Linked DNA regions of Homo sapiens: region 1 is linked to region 2. The links are contacts of gene promoters, found by promoter capture Hi-C in human tissues and cell types (Jung and others, 2019). All regions are on one chromosome and are shown on one strand. Each heading gives the region's core, a stretch centred on a gene start or on the middle of the fragment in contact. The rest is flanking DNA. Distances are from core to core; before and after follow the strand shown.

What was found. The method cuts DNA at HindIII sites, captures the fragments that hold promoters and counts their contacts. A contact is called where the count stands out against the background at its distance.
Region 1: a contact is called between a fragment that was not itself captured here and the fragment with the promoter of MFSD6L in region 2, in 2 of the 25 tissues and cell types used here (H1 embryonic stem cells and pancreas).

What each region holds. Positions count from the first base shown.
Region 1 is chr17:8,562,546-8,565,245 of GRCh38, reverse strand. All of the region lies in intron 7 of MYH10 (myosin heavy chain 10), which reads left to right. Among named protein-coding and RNA genes, the nearest start is that of MYH10, 67 kb to the left of the region's middle. The HindIII fragment of the contact is 5,307 bases long and covers 1-2,700 here.
Region 2 is chr17:8,798,013-8,800,712 of GRCh38, reverse strand. MFSD6L (major facilitator superfamily domain containing 6 like) reads left to right here and starts at 1,348. Exons shown (of 1, transcript NM_152599.4): 1 at 1,348-2,700. The coding sequence starts at 1,593. RefSeq lists a silencer at 1,215-1,274. The HindIII fragment of the contact is 25,791 bases long and covers 1-2,700 here.

The DNA.
Region 1 (2,700 bases), core at 60-2,559, 240 kb after region 2:
TTATTAAGCACCTATTATTTGCCAGCCACTGTGCAGCTTAATTGATATCTCCAAATGGATGTCAATAGATTCTTGAAGTTTAACATATTCCAAATGAAAGTTTTTCCTTTCCTTTCAAAATTTGTTCCTTTATGTCTTACATCAATAGATGGTATTATGAAATCACCCAGTTGGTTAAACTTAAAATAAAAGCAATAGCAAAACCTAGAAAGACAAAATACCTAGGAATCAGCCTTTTTCTCATGGCCCACGTCCAGGCCAACAGTGAATCCTGTTGGTTAAACATCTAGAAGGTGTTTCAGATCTGTCCACATTTCTTCTCCTAACTAGCTAGTTAGTCTAAAACCATATCTGAGGATATTTCTTCTATTATTCTCTATCACAGTATCCTGTTTATTTCCCTCATGGCACCTATCACAAGCTGTAACTAATTACTTTGTGTATTTATTATCTTTCCTAGTAGAATGTCTAAGATCTTTGTCAGTAGGGACTTTGTATCTTTGGTTCCTAGCATAGTGCCCCACAGGTATATTTATGGATTTTATGGAATTCATTTACTGAAAATGTGGCAGACACTACAAAGTGCCATACACTCTTCCAGGCCCTGGGAATATACCAGTGGTCAAAACTAAGGTTCCCTAGCCCTGTAGAGCACACCTTCATATTGGTGTTAACTTTAATATGTTTTCAACGGCATGTCATGATGTTGTTGAGCTCGGGGAAGGTAGTGCATATGCTAGATCCTCTGAGAATATGCATGCCCCCATTTTAGAAGCAAGGGTAGAGAACATGAGGGAGGCAGTTGCTCCGTGGGCAGGCCAGGCCTTGGGTTGAGATCAATGTCATACCAAGAGTAGTACGATGTTAAAAAATGAGTTGTGTATACAGTGAAATTTCATGCAGTCATATTTATAAGCTACATGCTTACAGTGAAAATATTTGAGGCTATAAACTCCATAAGCTTTAGAATCCATTTGGTTCCATTTCTTTGATCTGATATAGACGACTAATTTCCTGAAGAATATCTTTTCTTTCAAAGATACTAGCATATGGTTTATATTAAAGGGATTCTTTATTTAGGAGAGCATTACCCTTAAGAAAATAATCGTTCACAGTTAGTCCAGTTCTCTGTTTATGGAGAAGTAAAATGCGTTCCAGATGGAGGAGATTTATGTAAAAAGAATCTCTCATAATGAAACTTTAAAAACAGGGACTTCAATTTCAAAATGATTGTTTGGATCAGCAGGTACATCTTCCCTCACAGAGTTTTAGTTAGAATCACTTTCTCTATTTCCACAAATCCTTCTTTTCTTTCCTTTTATTTTCTTTCTCTCTCTCTTTTTTTTTTTTTTTTCCAAGTTGACTTAAGCCAGGCTGGCAATTTCCAACTATTATGTACCTCTTGGTAGATAAGTATCCTCCAGCAGTTAAAGCTAGGTAAGGGCTCTAGGCATCCTCCTTACAGTTTGGCGACCAGGTTATAATGAAAGCACGTCCGGATTCTGCACCCTCATATCTATTTATCAAAAGGCAGTTGCTGAAAACAGTTTTGTAAGTTGCATGCAGCCCAGCTCTGTTTAATTTCTCTAACCAAACGTTTACCTGAAAGATTTACTGAGGCAAATGTGACAGTATCAGTGACAGAATATGGTCTGCACCAGGCAACCAGCATCTTCCAGATCACTGGCTGCACACAGCCATTTAGTATCAAGCTCTAGGAGCACCCCCAACAATACAGCCTCCTGGACTTGCTGGAGTCTCAACACTTGTTCCCTTGACCCCGGATTGGGGAGGGTCTATATATATCTTTCTTTGTTTTTATTTATGTATTTATCTTTTTTTAAGGCTCTATTTGAAGTTAATATATATCTCTTTCTAATCAGTCCATGGCTTAATGCCACTCATGTTACCCTAGTGATTTCTAATATCCATTATACTAAGTAATGAGGCCACTTAGTGCATGTGAAAACTCATTTTACTAACAACAAAGCTTCTGGTTTGGTTTGGAGATTAAGATAGCTAAAGCATTTAAGGTGGCCATCTGGCCTTTGGATTAAGTGCTAGCTCATTACTCCTAGAATGGATTTTCTCATTTAGGGCAAATAGCTAACACACATGCATAGCACCCTATCTGTGCTGATGTGTTTTAATGCATACTGCAGATCATGTAATAACTTTAGATGCCAAATTAAGAAGGGGGAAAATATGTTCAGAATATGAAACAAACCTGCATTGCCCCTAAATTAAGTTGCTAACTAATAACTAATCTAGTTTTAGTTACTATAGATACATTATAATCACCCCAGAAAAGATTCTAGAAATCGATGTCAATTCAGAACAAACAAAATTTTTGAAACTAATTAAGATAATTTTCATTTTATTTTCTTCAGGGTATGAAAATATCAAATATCCGGGTTTCCCTATTGCACATTTTGAGTGAAATCCTTAACAAGTTATATTTGATTATATATGAGAGAATTCTAGTTGTCTTTGCTGTTGAGAGCTCTCACAGTACACGTGTAATTTCACTTGTTTCTGGATTGGTATACAATAAGCGTTATCAAAATGTGTAGCTGTAATTAATACACAAGGTACTTGTCACGTTTTGGGGGTTTTCCATGCTTTTGTTTTTACTGGTGAAGTTCCGATTGAATATTCTAAGTACCATAATCTGACCTTTATGCAAATCAATTATGGAGT
Region 2 (2,700 bases), core at 99-2,598:
CTATAGCATCCTTCCAAAGGGTTTGGACTACTGGCATCTCTAGATTTTTTTTTTTTTTTTTTGAGACGGAGTCCCACTCTGTTGCCCAGGATGGAGTGCAGTGGCGTGATCTCGGCTCACTGCAAGCTCCACCTCCCGGGTTCATGCCATTCTCCTGCCTCAGCCTCCCAAGGAGCTGGGACTACAGGCACACACCACCACAACCAACTAATTTTTTTGTATTTTTAGTAGAGACAGGGTTTCACCGTGTAAGCCAGCATGGTCTCGATCTCCTAACCTCGTGATCCACCTGCCTCGGCCTCCCAAAGTGCTGGGATTACAGGCATGAGCCACCGCACCAGGCCATCTCTAGATTATTATAGCCTGTTCCAGCAAGAGAGGAAATGCCTTCAAAAAAATTATCTCCAATCCAGGTGGCTTGGACACCACTAATTTCACCAGTGAAAAACTATTTCTAATATCTATTATGTCCATTAGTGAAGACACTTCTGTTGATTTAAGATTGTCGACGTGCTTGTACTAGCTGTCTCTGTCTTTTTGATGAAATGCTAGCTAACCACCTCAAGTGTGTGTACTCTCAAACAGGGCACCAGACCACCCTTAGGTGTAGGTTAAAACTGTGCAGCACATACATATGGCTCTGGGGACTGCCATGTGCTGGCGATCGGCTGCAAGGAGTTCCCCTGGACGACTGCCATCAGCTGTCAGCCCTCCTTAGGGACTGTCCCAGCTGGAGACAACCATGTCACCCAAGGTCATGCCATTTCCGAGGGCAGTATGCATCCAATGAAACAATTCTAGGCCCCGGGGACAAAAATACCTGCCTTCCTGGAGCTTGGATTCTGGTGGAGACAGACAATAAACAAAGTCAACACATGAAATATAAGCCCGTAGTGCCTTGGTCAGTGATAAGTTCTAGAGAGAACGATCAAGTAGGGCAGGGGAGTGGGAGTCTTGGGGGCGGGGTGGGTACAGGGGTATGGGATTTGCGATGTCAGAGTGGACCGTGTTGATCTCTGTCTGTGGTTGGTCACTGATCAGGGTGCATTCCAGTACAGACCTGAAGAAGATGAGGGAGACAGCCTGGTGGATACCATTCATTCCATTCTGGCTCCCCCCCACGCCGACTCTGACGGTTTTACTTGCCTGAAGCAGTCCAGGCGTTTAGCTCAGGCTCCTGGGCCACATTGGCAGCCAGAGGCCAGGCGGGGCCCGAGGCCTAGCTCAGAGCGCACCCTACAGGCCCCCGGACGCGCCCCTAGCGCACCTGCGCACGTCCGGGCAGGTGGCCCGCGGAGGCGGTGGGACGTGGCAGGTGCGGCTCGCAGGTGCGCTGGCCCCGCCCCCACCTTCGCCCCCGCCCCGCCTCTCCCTCCGGGCGGGGCCCCTTTCGGTCCAACGGCAGGACCTGGGGGCTGTGGCCGGGGGCGGCCGTTGACCTGGTGACCGCGGCGCCGCCCCAGACCGGGGGCGCAGTCCCACTCGCTCCGAGCCCCGGTCCCCCAAGCCTCCCTCCCGGGTACCTGGGGCCGCGCCCGCCCTGCGCCCAGCTCCGCCCTCCGTCGGCCCAGGCCTGACAGAGCCCGGCAGCCATGAGTGCCAACCCCCGGTGGGACATCAGCAGGGCGCTGGGGGTGGCCAAGCTCTTCCACCTGGTGTGCGGGGTGCGGGAAGCCTGCGTGACCCCGTTCCTGACCCTTTACCTGAGGCAGCTGGGCTTGGCCGCGCCCTGGGTGGGCACCCTAATGGGAACCAAGCACCTAATCGCTGCCTTCTGGGCTCCCGTCTGTGCCTTCCTGGCCAAAAGCTACCGGAAAAGGAGAGCGCTTCTGATCGGCTCCCTGCTCGGCTCGGTGGGGGCCAGCCTGCTGATGGTCCTGGTCCCACCGGTAGACAAAAATCGGGTGCACTTCCCTTGTAATGGAAGCAGCGGCCTGACCAGCACAGACGCACTCCCGGGGGTCACGCTACCTGTGAACATCACCTCGGCCCAAGAGTCTGCCTCCAGCCACCCAGCCAAGAGGACTGCAGAGGTGGAAATGCCTGGCTTCAGAAACCCACCTGGTGAAAGTGACCGAGAAACTTTCCGTGATCTGCACGTCTACTTAGCGCCCTCCGTTGAAGGAGCTAGGACCACATCCCAAGCTCTCCTCCATCCTGTCACTTCGGGGCTGAAAGATCATCCCTGGGAAGTTACTTTTGAGGTGGTCAAGACAGCCCTCCCCTTGCTTCCTGGGGGGAAAGGGCCCGGGAATCCAGCCAATTTGTCAGGGACCAAGGGGAAAGCCTGGGCTTTTGACCTGTCCTTGGAGGCGTTGCGGCGGACTTTTATCCTCTCCTTGGGGTCCGTGGCGTTCTGGGAGCTGCTGACAGCGCCTCTGGAGCAGGTGGCAGATGACAGCCTTTATGAGTTCCTGGATTTTGTGGATGCCACTGACCGATACAGAAGCCTGTGGGTCTGGAGGTTGCTGGGCATGTCGGCAGGCGTGTGTGGCATCACAGCCTTGGTGGGGCAGCTGGACTGCTTCCTGATGACCAGTGGCCCCCGAGGTGTGGTCCACTTCTATGGGTACTCGGTGGTCAGCACCCTGGCCTTACTGGTGAGCATTGCCTTTCCCATTCCCATCTGTCAGCAGTGGGAGCCCAGCTACAAAAGGGTCAAAGCACTGTCCATTGTGGGGGGTGACCCCCACCTCATTC